4 separate regions of the Homo sapiens genome follow, and regions 1, 2 and 3 are each linked to region 4. The links are contacts of gene promoters, found by promoter capture Hi-C in human tissues and cell types (Jung and others, 2019). All regions are on one chromosome and are shown on one strand. Each heading gives the region's core, a stretch centred on a gene start or on the middle of the fragment in contact. The rest is flanking DNA. Distances are from core to core; before and after follow the strand shown.

Region 1 (4,939 bases), core at 1,043-3,542, 44 kb before region 4:
CAAGAAATTATGAATATTCCAAGTGCTAATAAAGGTTGAAAGTACTAGTTTGAATAGATTCATACATGATAAATCAATAATGGTCTTAAGGAAACACGAGAAAAACTGGACTACAGCCTTTATTTTTCAGTTATTCTTGGCAATGAATATGCTGTTCCATAAAACTTCTCCTGGTTTCACTGTCAGATACAGAATACTAGACCAGCTACATTCATGATCTAATTACAACTATTTTTAGTGTTCTTATTCATTTTTAACTCATAATTCACTTGACTATCAAAATTCATGCAATAACTAAAATAATGTGTTAAATTAAAATTTTACCTCATATTTATCAAGAAATGCTGATAAACAAGGAAATGTAAAGACCCTGAAATAAAAAGTAGTTTAAGAAAAAAATAAATAAGCTTTCACAGCATAATCTTGTCCAGTAATAGAAATCATGCCTAGAATCAAAAGGAAATCAGGCAGTGGTCATAATAATTGAAATAAAATCATATTTCCCTCTTTAATACTTTTCAAAATACATGTTTAGTGGACATTTATGTAGAGAAAATCATATTACTTTGACAATACTACTCAATCTACCATTCTGACTAAAATGATTGCACCAAATGTTTTTGTGTGTGATATGGTTTGGTTCTGTGTCCCCACCCAAATCTCGTCTTGAATGGTACTGTCATAATTCCCATGTGTTGTGTGAGGGACCTGGTAGGAGATAACAGAATCATGAGGGCAGTTTCTCCCACACTGTTCTTGCGGTAGTGAGTAACTCTCACGAGATCTGATGGTTTTATCAGGGGTTTCCCCTTTTGCATCTTCCTCATTCTTTCTTTGCCTGCTGCTATCCACGTAAGATGGGACTTGCTCCTCCTTGCCTTCTGCCATGATAGTGAGGCTTCCCCAGCCACATGGAACTTTAAGTCCAATTAAATCTCTTTCTTTTTTAAATGTCTCAGTCTCCAGTATGTCTTTATCAGCAGTATTAAAACAGACTAATACAGTGTGCTATCAAATATGAGCAGAGTTTCCTAACTTAGCTTATTGTTTCCATAGAACTTAAATAAGAATACAAGTGAATAATTACATTAAAAATGGTTAAATTCACAGAATTCTTTCTTAGATACTATTTTACATAGTTAGCATATTATCTCATTTTAATCTATATCACAAACATATGAGGTAGTTATTAATATAACAGCTAAGGAAACTGAGGCATGTAAGGTTAAATAATTTGCCCAATATTAGAACAGGAAGAGAGGAACTTATGATTCAAATCAGGTAATATGACTCCTTGCACAACCCTTACAATACCGTTAATTTCTTTAGTAAGTAAAATAAATGTGAACTCATTCATCCAATAATTATGTTGAACATCTATGAGGTGCTAGGCATTGCAAATTCTGTTTTTCTGTCGTTATAAAAAAAAGATTAAAATTTATATTACACATCCTTTCATGCCCCTCAGAAAGATCCTACTTACTGTATGTTAATTATAAAGGAAGATGATTTGTTTGCTATATATTTACATTCCAGTATGTGGATGAAGGAGATGATTCAAGTAATAAATATGTCTAGATTTTTATTATCCCTCAAACATTAAATAATAATGGATATGCAACTCAGAAGTATAGTAAGCCAATTTTGAACATCTAAAGTTATTAATTAATATGAATTAAACAGAAATGAACTTTTCCCTCTAAAAAGTACAAAATAAAACAAGGCCAGTGCAGAATTATTTCAGATTACTGGTGTAGTAATTTGCTAAAATCATGTTATTGTTTTAAATTATCTATGCACATTCTACACTCCAACATAGTGTAGAGAACAAGAATAAAGTTAAATGTATAAAGATGCAACACTGGGTGCTCACTCTTGAGCTCTATTTATTTGACAGTAAATGGTTGTATCTTGCATTAAGTTTACCTTCTTTTGTCTCCAAGCATGCCATTTACAAGGTTGAGAAATATCCTGCAATCCTAATTTTAAAGAGAAATACTTTTAAAAATCATAATAATTTTTAAAAATTCACGAATTTCTGTTATTGTTATACAACTTACTGTTTCAAATTCAGAGTCCTTAATTCTTTTAAATGCCTTAGCAATAAAATCCATTGAAAACCACTGATGTGCCAGTTCTTGTCTTTGTTTTTCTGTGGTCATTCTACACAAAGCTTCTACAATGCCTACCTGTAAGTCATAATCTATTAAAAAAATAGTTAATGTTTGATTTACAATTATGAAAATTAAGTTTATAAAAGACCATATATTTTACAAGGTATTAGAATAAGCAAGAGAAATAAGAATATATTAATGTAATTGATTAATCTATTAATATTTTCTTCATATGGATTAGAAATATCTCATCATTTGAGGAATTAACACAGCCCAAATAACAAGTGTGCCAACAGAAGAAATAAGTAAAATTTAAAAAAATGTTGAGACTTCTAAATATTCAAAGACACTGCCATTTCATTATTATTAGAGATATAAAATGCAAAGTAACCCACACAGTTGTCTGTAAGTTACAAAGTCTGTTTTCCTCTTGTGTAACATGTTTACAGTTATCCCAGAGTACTTTAAACCATGATTTATTCTACATGTAAATCACCATATTAAAATTCATTCACAAAAAGCTTAGAAAATAAATTTTAAGTTATTTTAATAAACACATTGTTTAAAAACAAATCCATCAATATGAAGAATATTAGACACCCTAATTTCATAAAAAAATCTGAGGAATTTCTTAGCACAAGTAGTTCAGGTCTACTGAAAAATTAAGCCATTATATTAAGCTATTATATTAATCTATTAATTTAAGCTTTATTAATTAAGCTATTATATTAAGCTATTAAATTAAGCTATTAATTTAAGCTATTAAGCTATATTATTCATAAGTCTACCATTAGGCACAAATTGTATGTATCTAACGCCTACTGTCATAAATTATTTTTGTCCCAGACAAATTTCATGTATATTTATTAAAAATTGCTTAATTGTACATAATGTTTATAATTCCCTCAGTCTCACATTGCTATGCTAATATTTAAATTAAAAAGATACTATCTGCTATTCATAAATATGGAATAATTTTAGATTTGGAAAAGACATACTTACCTCCAGCATCTAAAATCCTTTCTCCCATACTACTCCTGTGAATTAAAATAACAGATTACAAAATAGACCAGTATCAATTAAATAGGAAGTCCACATGTTTAGGAGGAAAAGAAACTTCACAAAAATTTACAATTGGCTAATATCATCGACTTTTGCAGAAATTATATGCATACACTAAATTATATTAAAAAGCTGCAACAGTTTATCAGTTTCATTATTAATGCAAACTCATAGTTGTCTGTCTTATAAAACATTCTTATGGATTTTAAGAATAAAAACCATATAAGTACAGATTATTACATGAGAATTAACATTTCTTGGTTAGAGAGTATTTTCCGGGCATCTTGAGGCATTTTGTCAAGCATAGCATTCATTTTTTTTATAATCTAGAAAAGAAAAAAAGATAATGCATTAACTTTACATTCAGTGAAACACTATTAAGAGAAATATTCTAGGCACATAAACTTAGAAGCCTAATTTTTTCTTAATCACTGAGTTTTATTATGGGAATGGAGTAGGATGGAGGAAAGAATATATAAAGTATAAAATAGGCCAGGCATGGTGGCTCACTATAATACCAGCACTTTGGGAGGCCAAGGCGGGCGGATCACTTGATGTCAGGAGTTCGAGATCAGCCTGGCCAACATAGTGAAACCCCGTCTCTACCAAAAATACAAAAATTAGCTGGGCATGGTAACACGTGCCTGTAATCCCAGCTACTCGGAAGGGAGGCAGGAGAAGCGCTTGAACCTGGGAGGCAGAGGTTGCAGTGAGCTGAGATTGCGCCACTGCACTCCAGCCTAGGCAGATAGAGCAAGACTCTCTCAAAAAAATAAAAATAATAAAGTATAAAATAATGAATATAAAAACAACATAAACTATAGAATATCAAAAATAGAATATAACATGACTCCGATACTTAAAGCACTTGTACTTTTTGCAATAAAACTTGTATTTATTTTAACTCCATTATAAGATCTGAGGAAGCCAAAAAATGTTACTTTATTTTGTTCTTATGATTATAGTACATGTACACACATACATATACTAATACAGATTATTTTTAGCATTTAAATACTTAAGCACCCCAAAAATCTGGTTGGTATAATTTATTTCCACTTGAGCTATATGCACACATAAACCCATATGGTTATAAATTTTCAGTAAGTATTTCGGAAATATGTCAGGCAATAGATTATGATAGAAATATACTCCAAGCTAAGTAATTTTGTCCTACATGAAATAAATTGTCAATTTAATTGCTATTGATTTTCTTCACGTTCTCATTTTTAGTTTTTAAAACACAAATAAATGACTTTACCTCTTGCTGAATACAAATATTCACTCTTGAGTCAATAACCAGGGAACAAATGCGAGGTACGAAACTTTCCACTACTTGTTTTTTACCTGAATAAAAGTGTTAAATTATTGATAAATGTTCATTTCAAATCCTCTTAACTGTCAGTCTTTTCTTATAAGAGTTAGTGGAAAGGGGCCAGGCATGGTAACTCAGGCCTATAATCCTAGCACTTTGGAAGGCCCAGATAGGTAGACTGCTTGAGCCCAGGAGTTTGAGACCAGCCTGGGCAACATGGCAAAATCCTGTCTGTACAAAAATTAGCCGGGCACCTGTAATCCCAGCTACATGGGAGGCTGAGGTGGGAGAATCACCTGAGCCCAGGAGGTCAAAGCTGCAGTGAGCCGTGATCGTGCCACTGTACTCCAGCCTGGGTGAGAGTGAGACCCTGTCTCAAAAAATAAAAATAAATAAAGAGTTAGTGGAAAGGATATACTACTGCAGTTCAGAAGAAGGCCCACCAGGG
Region 2 (4,524 bases), core at 2,025-4,524, 62 kb before region 4:
CTTCTGGGGAACAAAGGTGGTATATTTCCTTGTAACCTCAAAAATTCCTTGCACAAAGTCAAACAAATTCTTTGTAAATCTTTTTCAAATCAATGAAAGCCAGTGGGGTTAAATGGTAATACAGGGAGAAGTATATACATTTTCTTAAAAAAATGACTAAATTAAACCACAAGGTACTTACTAAAATTTTGGTTTGGGAATTCAACATTCTTATTTTCTGTGTTTTCTACACACTTAGCAGTTTTGATATGCTGTAAACACAGGAAACAGGTTAACGTAAACTTAAGATGTTATATGAAAACCTAAATGTTACAGTATTAAGGTTTGAGTCTTTTAAAACAAATCTGCCTTGATATGAAAAGTTGGATACTATTTTTATATATTTCATAAACGTTATGCCCGTTTTTGAATATTCCCTATCCTGAAACACAAGAAGAAAACTGTCACTGCAGACGAGGCAGAATATTGCATAAATTTTCTGATCACATCCATAGCTAGCATAATAATTCAGTTTTCATCTGTAACTGACAATTTCTAGACTCTCCATGAGGAATCTCTCCTGCTGCTGTTGATTACATAGCCTGCTTTATCTATTTTGATATGGTCCATTCTTTCTTTCTTATATTTCACTTTTCCTGTTTCTTCAGAATTATCATCAGATATCGAAGAGGACGATTTTTGTTTAGCTAAGTTTTTTATTTATAACAATATCTATTGCATTACCCAGGTAACTTCTTTCCTACAGCAAGCTTCCCTATTTCCATAGCCAAAGATAACACTTAATCCAGATCAAATACAAATCTGCCACTATTATCAGAAAAATATTCCCTTTAGTCTAAGCTATTTTGCCTCATCCTGGCTGCCTTTCCTTCTTACTCTAGCCAGTGATTCTCCACACTAGGAGGGGAACATTATGGAAATATGCAGGTGTGGTTTGGGTTGTCACAATGACAGAGGGGTTCTCCTGACAATAGGTAAGCACAATCCTAGCTAGGATGCTTATCATCCTACAACATTTAGGACCATGTCGCACAACTGAAAAATAATCCCCTTATTAAGAAACACTTAGACAACTTGAACCATTACTTTGACTATTTTCTTTTAATATCTTCAACTCTCATACCCTTTATCTTTCTACCACATACCCATTTAAATTAAAAAAATAGAATCCATCATCTGTTCTCATCTTACTATTAACACCAAGACTACTAAGCTTTGAGAAAATTGTACATATTTATGAACATATTTATGCTATAAAATTCATAGTCATATTTAAACTGGGTCAACATTGTCTAACACTTATTCTTAGGCCTCTCCATTACCTTGCACATAGCTTTACATGTCCCTGAACCCTGTACTTCAACAGATCTCCAGGAGAAACTCACCATCTTCACACTTCAGAAAAAACAAAAGCTATTAGATGTTCCTCCTTTACAAGCTTATCTGCATCGCTGATCACCTCCTGTTTCTCCAAGAAACTATTCTCTCTTATCCATTCCTGCTTTGTCTTTTCAACTACCTGGAACAAATGCCCTTCTCCTCAATATCCATTTGACTCTTTATTGACCTTTCAAAAGTCAATTCATTCTCCATATTTTCTTAAAAAGCATCTCCTGATCTTCACCCTCACCTCTAGCTATGGGGTTAGGCACTTGACCCTCTAACTTGGTTCCTACTGCATCCTATATGTGTAAATCTGAGAATGCTTATGTAACTTAGTATCTAATTTTCATGCTAAATTTTGAGAAACTTAAGGACACAGTCCACTTGTACTTCGCATTCCTATACCAGAGTCTTCCCCATAGTAGTCACCAATTTGTATAATCAACTAAATAATTATGGCAGGTTCATTTATGCTCCCAAATGTGTAAATCAAGTTATAGTGAATTAATATTCATAACTTTTATTGTAAGCACAGTAAATGAGTCATATGCCAGAAGGACCCTACTTTCAAGGGCAATAAATATTTAGGGGAAAAAAGGTAATGCTTTAAACAAAATGAGACACTTGCAGCTTGCAAAAGGAGTTAGCTCAATACATATTTCCACAATTACTTGAAAAAATATTTTTAAAATACTTTCAAGGTAAAGTTACTTTGTCTATATTATCTCTTCTATGTCTTCCTTCTGATGATCTAGATTTCAGTGATGCAGCATTATCCACTCTATTTTCTGATGTTTGAGAAACACTAGGTTTCTCTGCAGAGCTCGTCATTTGCAGTGGTGGTTTAATTCTTCTTCTTCGTGGTGGTATTGCTAAAAAGGAGGACAAGGATTGCAGATTTTTCTTTTTTTACCTATTGCTATTATTGAGGTACTTTTCCAATGAGAAAGGTAAGAAACGAACATTCTTAGATGGTTCCCAGGTTTCTGGCTTAGATAATTAAGTGAATATAGATGCCATCTACCAAGATAATAAGTGAAGGAAAAATTTGCAGGAAGGGTGGAAAGATTAATTTAATTTTGGACCTATTACATTTGGGGAGCCTGTCAGATACTAAGCAATTGGCCAGTAGGCAACAAGATTTTTAGAACAGAAGGTCAATGTTAAGTTGTCATATAGACTAAGACTTTAACTAGTACACAGTATCAGGTTTTTTAAAACTTTTATTTAGCTCTTAGTATGTATCAGGCACTGTTTAAAGTTTCACTAGGTAACTTATTAAATGAGTGATTTTTATTTAATCCTCTAAACAACTTGATAAGATAGATACTTAAGTGCCACTTATAGAAAAAAAAACTGGTTCTAAATTTAGCTAGAGGATATCTGTACAAAGTACACAGCTGGAAGTGGGGAGCTAAGTCCACCTGGCCTGGTTAATTCAGTGTTTTAACCAGTAAGATATGCTGTGTCCTGCTTAAATTATAATAAATTATTAATGTCGAATATTAGTATTTTCAACACTGTTCTGTTCATATGTTAGCATTATACTTTTCTTCCCATTAGAAGACATTTGTGGTTCATATTTTATCAATTTTTATACACCAAACTTATCCTTTATGTAAATTATGTTCAGAATTGCCTTAAATTAAAAAATGCCTCCTTTAAAATAATTGTTAGAAATCTTTTAAAACTATAAAACTTACATGTGTTGCTGAAAAGCACTGGACTTCTCATAGTGTATCTATCTGCACCAGAAACAATCATTGATGCTTCAGACATTTTTCTTTTGCTAGGAGTAGTTTTCTGAAACCACGATGAAAAACAACCACTGTAAACACAGTCTTTTTGAAATTAAATATCCTACAATTTTACTTATAACATTTTGCCTTGATACATGCCAAAGATATATGTTTTTTAAATAAACAACACAATATTCATAAATTTCCATGTTTTAGGCTGATATGAAAGGTTCATCTTCATGTTTGGTATTAAATAAGTAGCTAAAACAAGTAAGGAACATTGTTTTAAAGAATATTTATAGAATATCCATGCCTATGAAGTACAGTACCTTTATATGCTAGCTGAAAATATTTTATCAATATTGAGTTTATCTAGTTAACCATAGCTTGCAATTTCCTATTCTATATCATGAGGATAATGTTTGGATTACATATTTATATGAAATTATTTTGAGTGCTTTCATGTTAAGCTTTCTTCAAAACATTCACACATTTTTGAAAATTGTACTAATAATCTGTGAAGACTAAACTGGAGTGAAGTAGCTGCAGGAATTCATAGATTCAGTGGCACATAATCTAGTGGTTCCAATAAAGATTTGTTTTCTCCCATATCATCTCACACTAATTTATAAGAGGGACAGAAGTAGATAAGCAGAGGCAGGGACTACAAGAGACAGGAGTTTCAGAGGATGCCATATTAAGAAGTAGATGGTGACATACTGCATAGAGGCATAAAAGAGCTGGTTTTAAGGCACCTGTCCCTAGAACAGGGGAAAAAATGATACAGTTGTGAGTGGGTATGTATATGAAACGTGAGGGAAGGATGGAAAGGATAAGATAAAAGAAAATTCTAAGATTAACTAGAAAACAAGCTTCTGAGCCAACAGATTTTTCTTAGAGAAATTAAGTTTTTAGTGGCATAGTGAATGGAACCTGAACAGTTACTTATTCATATAAATGCCTCAAACAGTTCATCCTTATTGAAAACAGAGCACAGGTATTTAACAGTAGTATGGTGTTTTTCGAACTTTGGTGTGCTTAAGACCTTTCCAAGAGTTTAAGATTCAACAGATTTAAGGTGGGGCTAAGAATCAGCATTGTTAATAAGCACCCAACATGATTCTGATATAAAGACACCAAAAATAGCTTTCATGTGCTAATTATCTCGGGGAAATAAATGACACTTTTAATTGAGAACAAAAGACTAAAAAACAAAATAGTAACATAAACATGCCAAAATATATGGAAGTGCCTGTGAGAGTTATAGTTACGTAAAGGTGAGAGATTAGTAAAAACTGAAATAATCAGGCAAAGCTCCACGAAGAAATCAAAAAATGGGCCGGGTGCAGTGGCTCATGCCTGTAATCCCAGCACTTTGGGAGGCCGAGAAGGGCAGATCACC
Region 3 (4,504 bases), core at 1,741-4,240, 35 kb after region 4:
TGTTCTTGAAGAAATGGAAGAAATTGGCATTTTTGGGTCTATGTTCCATGAGACCATGATCATGGGGACAGAAAGGGGTCATGAGTCATGCCCCTTCTCTCTCCAGGCTGAGCTCAGCAGTTGGCCCCAGACCCCATTCCACCAGCTTCACTCATTTCTCGTGCTTACTTGGCCTTGGTCCACACTTCAGTGTGAGATTCCTCTCCTTACAGCAACACTTCTCAACTTATCTGTTGGGAATGGCTAGATTTTTTAAAAATTTACAATTCATTATGGAGTGATAAGTTTGCAAAATATAATGAAATGGAATTACTAGAAAAATTTTCATGCACTAGGTGGACATGACAATGCTGATGACTCTAAGGGCTTCTCAACACTTGCTCTTCATTTTTGCAGTTATCTCATTGTGAGCAGCCAACCAACAGCTCACAGACCCCTTCTGGTGCACAGTGGTGCACCTTGAGTTAGCAAGGCTCTTAAGAAGTAGCTGTCAAACTATAGTGTGTATCAGTCTCTGGGGGAACTTGTTAAAATGCAGATTGCTGGGCCCCACCCCTACAATTTCTTTTCTTTTTTTTTTTTCTTTTTTTTGAGATGGAGTCTCTCTCTTTCACCCACGCTGGAGTGCAGTGGCATAATCTTGACTCACTGCAACCTCCACCTCCCAGGTTCTTGTGATTCTCCTGCCTCAGCCTCCTGAGTAGCTGGGACTACAGGCACATGCTGCCACGTCTGGCTAATTTTTGTAATTTTAGTAGAGACGGGGTTTTGCCATGTTGGCCAGGCTGGTTTCCAACCCACCCATAGAATTTGATTGAGAGGTCTGGGGTCAGGACTGAGATTTGCATTTCTAAGAAGCTCCCAAGGGTGCCCATGATGCTGGCTGGGGATCCCTTTAGGCACCACCAACAGGAGCCTTTCCTAATTCATTGCTGTCTTCCTGTCTCTTGAGGATGGTTGGCTCATACTTAGGTCTCAGGAAATGTTTGGACTGTGCTGAAATCAAGAACTAACAGTCCATCATTTTAGCCTCAATATGGCTTTTTCCAGGAGGCAGGATGAGTGTCTTTTGTGACAGGGTGGAGGCATGATCTGGGTTGGGGGCAGCTTTGGTTTCCTCTAGTTCTGCTTCATCTGCATTAGCTGAGGGAGCTGCCTTTTGGCCTGAGATAATCCACAGAGGAACTCTGAGTTTCTTCCCCTCGTTTGTAAACATTGCAAAATCACAGTGCTTCTAAGGAACTTCTGGAACTTTCCCTAAGAGGTGAAGCAGTGCACAAAAAGCTTCAATCCCTTTAAAAACTGTGACCCACGCAACATGAGAGAGGGATCCTTGCTGACCCTTTGAAAAACATTTGCCCAGAAGATGAAGGAAAAGCATAAGGAGAAACTGCCCCTCTCCGCACCTTTCTGGGACCTGCACTTTTTGTTGTTGTTGTTGTTTGCCTGAGTCCAGGAGGTTCCTGCTGCGGTGCCCTCAACAGGTAGCTGGGGTGGCAACCTGGCAAGGTTGCAAAGGATGCAATCCAATGGCTGACAGCTCTCAGGAATGCTGGAGGGCTTGGCGTGGCCCACCCCTTACAGTGGTGTCAGGTTCACATAGGTGAGGGGGATGTAGAAGACCACTTTGAGGAATAGGGTTACCCAACTGTGAACTGCCAGGGCTCTGCTGCAAAGGGAACACACCAGGGGTAAAGTCCTAGGTTTCTGTTGCAAGGGCAGGTTGGTTTTTCACACTAAGCTAACATCATCTACAGGCCACTGAAGATGGGTTCCTTTCCAGGATGAATCATCTCCCCAAGGCAGACAAAACTATGTTCAGTCCAACAAGGAGGGGGACGCTTGGTCTTCTGGTGAATGTCAATTCCACAGACCTAGGAGAGTCTTTAGGCTGTCCTCCCTGTGCTTCCATTCCTTTCGTGAATTAAACACTCTCGTAGTTTAATTGCTCTTAGAATTTCTCAAATTACTTGTGGTAGAAATAGTGTTTCTATGACATATTTTGTTTTTTTATGCAACTTTTTTATCTTTTAATGTAAGTTTTTAATTTTAAAAATTGCTGTCCGTTTTCCTTCTACAAGATATGAACTGGTTCATGACCCAGCAAATTGGGTCAGCGTCGACAAAAACTCCGGAGTGGTCATCACCGTGGAGCCAATTGACCGAGAATCCCCTCATGTAAATAACAGTTTTTATGTAATCATCATTCACGCTGTTGATGATGGTGAGTGTTTACCCAAAATTGGAAAAATAAAATGCTCATTCTTGCTTCCTGCGGGAAAATAACCCTGGTGAGCGTCTTTCAGCACAGCAGAGAAAAGGATAAAATAAACCTTGTTATCACTCTGCATCCATGCTGGTGATTATTTTTGGTAATAATTCTTAAAATGGTAAACAAGGGACCAATACCATCGAAAGAGGGCAGTATTCATTCAGAAGAGACAATTAAACCAGCAAGGAGGCTGCAATCAAACCCAGCATCTTTTTCATCTGTTCATGAGCTAACTCTTTAGCTCTTTGTCAAAGCCAATGATGTGTGATAAATATTTAGCACAGCTTCCCTGTGCTTGGGATGGCATACGAGCTCAGATAAATGGGACTGTAAGGGACACATTTGTCATAAACCAGAATGGGTGGTTTTATAAGCCTGTTTCAGCATTTTTCTCTACACTCTCCTAAGGCTGAAACTTTAAACACACCAAAGCAGAGTTGAAGAAATAAAAATGTTCAAATAACTTTAAAATTGTATTTAAGAAAGTCTGTGAACTAAAACCCAAGCTCCAAGTGATATATCACTATACGTTCCATTCTGTAATTAACTAGTGGAATGTTGGCGGGGGGCAATGGAGATATGAAACACGTGTTCCTAATCAGCATTAAGGGAGGAGAAAAAATGGGGCCAGTGTTTCAGGGTTCCGTCATTCTGTTATGGATGATTTTATGATTGGTACTTTTTTTTTCCTTTATTTTTTGCTTTTTGTATTTCAAAAGCTTTTGGGGTACAAGTGGTTTTTGGTTACGTAGATGAATTATGCAGTGGTGAAGTCTAAGATTTTAGTGCACTGGTCACCTGAGTAGAGTACCTTGTATCCAATGTGAGATTTCTTAGCCCTTGGCTCCCTCCTCCCCTGCTTCTGGGTCTCCAGAGTTCATGATATCACTCATGCCTTTGTGTATCCATAGCTTAGCTCCCACTTATAAGTGAGAACATACAGTATTTGATTTTCTATTCCTGAGTTATTCACTTAGAAGAATGGCCTCCAGCTCTATTCAAGTGTCTGCAAAAAAACATGATTTCATTCTTTTTTATGGCTGAGTAGTATTCCATAGTATACATATGCCACATTTTCTTTATCCACTCATTGGTCGATGGGCATTTAGGTTGGCTCCATATATTTGCAGTTATGAAGTGATGATTGCCACTTTTTTGAATTAGAAAAAGTCGTTTTAGATAATTGTAGATTCACTTGCAGTTTTAAGAAATAATCTAGTGGATCCTGAGTATCCTTTGCCAGTTTTCCCCAGGGGCAACACCTTGCAGGACTACAGTGTAACCTTGTAACCAGTACATCAACGCGGAGACGCAGCGCATTTGCCTCCCCTTGGGGACCCCCATGGTGCCCTTCTTTAGTCACACCCATTTTCCTCCACCCCACCCATCCTTGATGCCTGGCACCATTGATTGACCTTTTGTTTTTTTAATGAAGCCACATTCTACCTTGTTCTACAAGTGATTTGAGGTGGTAAGTGCTTTATTAGCTTACCCAAATATTCTGAATGCTCATAAAAGCAGGAAAACAGATCACGTGCATGCCAGGAGAGCTTATGACGTTGAAAGGGAAACAGTTCCAGTATTTCAGGAATATTTTTTTTCTGAGAGACGGAGAGTGCTCATTCTCCAGAGCTGTGTGTGCACGAGATAAACAACTCCTGAAACTTCCTCCCCATACAAGGCTTCCCACCGCAGACTGCTACAGGGACCCTAATGCTCTTCCTGTCTGACATCAATGACAACGTCCCGACTCTCCGGCCACGTTCCCGCTACATGGAGGTCTGTGAGTCTGCTGTGCATGAGCCCCTCCACATCGAGGCAGAGGATCCGGACCTGGAGCCGTTCTCTGACCCATTTACATTTGAATTGGACAATACCTGGGGAAATGCGGAGGACACATGGAAGTTGGGGAGAAATTGGGGTGAGTTTTTGTATTGGTTACGGGCAAAGAGTGGAAAATGCCAGATATCCAATTCAAACAGATTTAGGCAAAAAAGGACTTTATTAGCTTAAAAAACCGGAGAGGTCTGCGTTCTGGCAGAGCTGGCTCTAGGTGCTCAAAGGATATCCCTGGATATCCTTCCCACACATGGTCTGCCTTTCTCTAGGTTCCTTCTTTTTTAGGAAACTCTCCTCATCAGGGGGTAGGAGGCTGCTGGGAGTCCCTGAGACATATTCTTGCATCTGGCAAGAAGGGTGTTTCCAGGGAAGCTCCAGGATTGACGTCACTGT
Region 4 (5,055 bases), core at 1,678-4,177:
AGTGGGGACATCTTCAAGCTCAGGCTCACCCAAGATGTGCAGCAGGTGATGCCCAGAATCACCAGCTGAGTTCCAGGCCCCGTGGCCTACCCAAGTAGGGTTGCCGTGTGGGGAACTGGCATTCTGCTTAGTTATTTTAAACGCTTGAGAATGTTGAAAACTTGTTTGTTTCTAATATATTAAAATACCAGTTCCTATGGTGTTTTTTGTTTTGTTTTGTTTTGAGATGGAGTTTCACTCTTGTTGCCTAAGGCTGGAGTGCAATGATGTGATCTCAGCTCACTGCAACCTCCGCCTCCCGGGTTCAAGGGATTCCCCTGCCTCAGCCTCCGGAGTAGTTGGGATTACAGGTGTGTGCCACCATGCCCGGCTAATTTTAAAATACCAATTTCTTTTAAACTTAAAACGAATGTGAAAGTGGAATCCTTCACTGTTGTCCCCCAGCTCCGCCCAGACTAGAACATTGTGAGGCTAATGCCTTTCTAGCAACAATATTTTAGTCCCCAGCGCTATTCTAGCAGCAGGGAGTGCTCAACTGACGTGGTTTTTTCACATATATTTAACATGGTTTAGCTCACCTGACTTATATATTCTAAATTAGTGATTCTAACTTAATCAGTTTTTTAAAAATAGGCTATCATTATAGAAATATCCACTTTGAAAATAGGCACAAGGTATTCAGTTTCTCTTTATGCACAGGAAATATCTATAGACTTTAAAGTTGTATTTATTATTCTTTTCAATAATAAGCTATTAATTTCAATAAAAATAAACTATTCAAATTAAAATATTCAGCAGCATCTCAGAGCTATGAATGTTCAGTTAAGCAAAGAAAGTTTTTTTTTTTTAATTGGGAGATTTTTATTTTATATTTTATTTTTGATGAGTTCTTTTTTATTTTTATTTTTTAATTTTATTTTTCCATAAGTTATTGGGGTACAGGTGGCATATTGGTTACATGAGTAAGTTTTTCAGTGGAGATTTGTGAGATCCTGGTGCACCCATCACCCAAGCAGTATACACTGCACCATATTTGTTGTCTTTTATCCCTCACCCTCTTCCCACTCTTCCCCCCAATTCCCCAAAGTCCATTGTATGATTCTTATGCCTTTGTGTCCTCATAGCTTAGCTCCCACAAATCAGTGAGAATATACAATGTTTGATTTTCCATTCCTGAGTTACTTCATTTAGAATAATAGTCTCCAATCTCATCCAGGTCACTGCAAATGCTGTTAATTCATTCCTTTTTATGGCTGAGTAGTATTCCATCATATATATCTGTATATACACATATATATACATATATATGTGTATATATATGTGTATGTATATATATACATATATGTGTGTATATATGTGTATGTATATATATACATATATGTGTGTATATATGTATGTATATATGTGTATATATGTACATACACATATATACACATATATGTGTATATATACATATATGCGTGTATATATGTACATACACATATATACACACATATATGTGTATATATGTACATACACATATATACACGCATATATGTGTATATATACATATAGATACGCATATACACATTTTCTTTATCCACTAGTTGATTGATGGGCATTTGGGTTGGTTCCACGATTTTGCAATTGTGAATTTTGCTGCTATAAACGTGCATGTGCAAGTATCTTTTTCGAATAATGACTTCTTTTCCTCTGGGAAGATACCCAGTAGTGGGATTGCTGGATCAAATGGTAGTTCTACTTTTGTTCTTTAAGGAATCTCCACACTGTTTTCCATAGCAGCTGTACTATGTTATATTCCCCCCAGCAGTGTAGAAGTGTTCCCTGATTGTCACATCCACACCAACGTCTACTGTTTTTTGATTTTTTGATTATGGTCATTCTTGCAGGAGTAAGGTGGTATCGCACTGCGGTTTTGATTTGCGTTTTGCTGATCATTGGTGATGTTGAGCATTTTTTCATATGCTTGTTGACCATTTGTATATCTTCTTTTGAGAATTGTCTATTCATGTCCTTATCCCACTTTTTGATGGGATTGTTTTTTTCTTACTGATTTGTTGGAGTTCATTGTGGATTCTGGATATTAATCCTTTGTCAGATGTATAGATTGTGAAGATTTTCTCCCACTCTGTGGGTTGTCTGTTTACTCTGCTGACTGTTCCTTTTGCAGTGCAAAAGCTCTTTAGTTTAATTAGGTCCCAGCTATTTATCTTTGATTTTATTGCATTTGCTTTTTGGTTCTTGGTCATGAAATCCTTGCCTAAGCCAATATCTAGAACAAGCAAAGAAAGTTTACCTTTTATTTTATCTGTTTACTACTTTAAACAAGGTAATGTGATAAAAAGGTCATGTTAAGGTAATCAGGGTTAATGTATCACAGATTGTGTTTTAAAACTTGCTTACTGCAACCTTAAGTATTGGTATAATATAATCTCAAATTGTCTCTTTCAGAATTCTCATGCAAAGACTCCCGGGTTGCCACAGAGATCCCTGTCCATAGGGAGGCTCTTTCCCATCTCTCCTCCCTCCCACTTTAATTCCAAACTCAAAAAGGCAGATTAATCTAAGCTTAAAAAAGGTTTTAGTAGAAATAATTTGAAAACCCCAGAGCCCTGGGATATTGTTGGAATAACGATTTTTAGTGCTTTGGAAAGTAAAAGTTGATTTTTCTTTTCTTTCATTCTTCCCCATCCCTTCCCCCTTAATAAAGTTATCATTCTTGTCATTTTCTAGTTTTTTTTGTTTGGTTCAAGAGGATAAGATTATAGAAAATAGTCACTAACATATCCTGCTATAGAAAGAGATGATTGGACCTTCTATTTGGAAACCAGAACAAACAAGGAAACAAAGAAACAAATAATTCTGCTTTCCGATAGGTGCTGGTTTTACTTCCGCTGGCTGAGCTGTTGTTCCTGAGGTCAGACCCCAGCCAGTCTTTTGTGTACGTGCAGGACCATGGTGGCTTTAGTTTCTACCCCACCCTTCCTAGGAACTCTACTTGTGGCAAACGTATGTTCAAGCTTACAAGTCAGCCCACCCCACTCTGATAAATGCAAGAAAAGCTGAAAAGGGAGGAGCAAGATGGGATGAAAGCATCTGGGCCAAAGTGACCTGAAAACCTTTAGAGAAGAAGCTGCTGGCTGAGAAGGAGGTGTGTGGCTCCGGTGAGACCACCAGCTTGGAGGACTGGTCATCAGCTGCACGTTCTGGGTCTGTCTTGGGTATTCCCATATGGCCATGAGATCCGGGAGGCACCCCTCGCTGCTGCTGCTTCTAGTGCTGCTGCTGTGGCTGCTGCAGGTAAGCTGAGCCTGCAGCCTAGTGCTCAGGTGCAGGGAACTGAAAGCAAAGCACAAGCTGGCCCTGCCCCTTCTAGGCTAAGGGAGGGGAGAGGGACTGAGTGTGACCTGCTGGGACCCAGGGCTGGCTGTCTTGAGAATGGCTTAGGTAGCAGGGGCTCTGGATTTATATAAAGGGAAGTTAAGGGTCCCAGTCTGTTTGGGGCAACAGTGGGAGCAGGCTAAGGGACCTGTTTAAAACTAATTTATATAGTTCACACTATTTTTAGTGAGATTACATCAACACACACGTGTTTTCTTTCTTTGTTTCTTTCTCCTTTTGTTGAGACAGGGTCTGGCTTCATCATCCAGGCTGGAGTGCAGTGGCATGATCAAGGCTCACTGCAGCTTTAACCTCCCAGGCTCAGGTGATCCTTCCACCTCAGCCTCAAGAGTAGCTGGGACTACAGTAACTTACCACCACGCTGGCTAATTTCTGTATTTTTTATAGAGATGGATTTTCACCATGTTGCCCAGGCTGGTCTCGAACTCCTAAGCTCAAGTGATTTATTCGCCTTGCCCTTCCGAAGTGTTGGGTTTACAGGCATGAGCCACCTCACCCAGCCAACACACACAATTTTTTTTTTTTTTTGAGACAGGGTCTCGTCATCCAGGCTACAGTGCGTGGTGACATCTCAGTGCACCGCAACCTCCTCCTACTGGGTTCAAGCAACCTCCTGGCTCAGCCTCCCGAGTACTGGGACTACAGGTGCACGCCACCATGCCCGGCTAGTTTTTGTATTTTTATTAGAGACAGGGTTTCACCATGTTGGCCAGGCTGGTCTCAAACTCCTGACCTCAAGTGATCTGCCTGCCTCAGCCTCCCAAAGTGTTAGGATGACAGGCTTGAGACACTGCGCCCTGCCAAGTTTTATAATGATACTTCTGTTCACACTTTACATAAGATTGAGGAAATCTCAGTTGTCTGGATCCAAGGCAATTTGAGCAAACCCATGGGGATGGAATGGCTAAATCCATTGCCCCCAACTGCCACTGTTTAAATGGGAATACAAACTAGTGGAGTCAGGATTCGAAACACATGGGCTTGCTCTGTTTGTACTTAGAGTGGACAGAGGTAATGTTGCATGCGCTTGTTGGTTATGATCTGCTTCGTTGGCTTTCTGTAGGTAGGGAGAGGGAATCATTTCTTCCTTTGAATACCAGCTGAGGGTGGGAAGCAGCCCAGTGGCTGGTAACTGTGAGCTCTGGACTGGGCTGCTTGGCGTCCTGACCTAGGCTCCTTCACAGCCCGCTGGGGACCTAGGCCAGCTTAACTTTGTTCCTTACCTTGGATCAAGTTGAACTTACCTAGGGAGCTTCAAGGGATCTCAGTGCCTGGGTTTTGCCCCCAAAGGTTCAGGTTGAGCTGACCTGGGAGTGCACTGGGTGTCAGTGCACTGGTTTTAACATAACCTTGTTAAGCCTATTTTTCTTCACCTGAAAATGGAGCTAGTAACTGAATTTATCTGAGCCAGTGGTTGTACCAGTGAATGAGGAAATGCGTAAAAGCCCTTGGTACTGCGAAAGTTGTCAGAATCAGAATGGAGTTCCTTATGTTAAAACACACACACACACACACACACACACAGGCACAAAGCCTGATATATAGACACAAAGAAGGTTATGAAAAGGGGGTTCTCACATTTGTAGGCTTGATAACTAAAACTATCACAAAAGCTCTGCAAAAATAACAACTTTGCACAAAGGCCGTTAAAAC

What was found. Contacts are between HindIII fragments. The study calls those that stand out against the background at their distance.
Region 1: a fragment that was not itself captured here is called in contact with the fragment with the promoter of CDH26 in region 4 in 2 of the 25 tissues and cell types used here (IMR-90 fibroblasts and lymphoblastoid cells).
Region 2: a fragment that was not itself captured here is called in contact with the fragment with the promoter of CDH26 in region 4 in 1 of the 25 tissues and cell types used here (stomach).
Region 3: a contact is called between a fragment that was not itself captured here and the fragment with the promoter of CDH26 in region 4, in 1 of the 25 tissues and cell types used here (pancreas).

The regions. Positions count from the first base shown.
Region 1 is chr20:59,912,049-59,916,987 of GRCh38, forward strand. It overlaps SYCP2 (synaptonemal complex protein 2), which reads right to left. Exons shown (of 45, transcript NM_014258.4): 8 at 4,438-4,523; 9 at 3,417-3,502; 10 at 3,117-3,151; 11 at 2,061-2,203; 12 at 1,927-1,979; 13 at 325-370. Among named protein-coding and RNA genes, the nearest start is that of SYCP2, 19 kb to the right of the region's middle. The HindIII fragment of the contact is 4,718 bases long and covers 1-4,651 here.
Region 2 is chr20:59,893,343-59,897,866 of GRCh38, forward strand. It overlaps SYCP2 (synaptonemal complex protein 2), which reads right to left. Exons shown (of 45, transcript NM_014258.4): 19 at 3,087-3,186; 20 at 2,095-2,255; 21 at 182-251. Among named protein-coding and RNA genes, the nearest start is that of SYCP2, 38 kb to the right of the region's middle. The HindIII fragment of the contact is 4,586 bases long and covers 982-4,524 here.
Region 3 is chr20:59,990,297-59,994,800 of GRCh38, forward strand. CDH26 (cadherin 26) reads left to right here. Exons shown (of 18, transcript NM_177980.4): 10 at 2,082-2,224; 11 at 3,954-4,193. Among named protein-coding and RNA genes, the nearest start is that of CDH26, 34 kb to the left of the region's middle. RefSeq lists an enhancer at 3,936-4,468. The HindIII fragment of the contact is 6,002 bases long and covers 1-4,504 here.
Region 4 is chr20:59,955,496-59,960,550 of GRCh38, forward strand. It overlaps CDH26 (cadherin 26), which reads left to right and starts at 2,928. Exons shown (of 18, transcript NM_177980.4): 1 at 2,928-3,300. The coding sequence starts at 3,232. The HindIII fragment of the contact is 5,804 bases long and covers 1-5,055 here.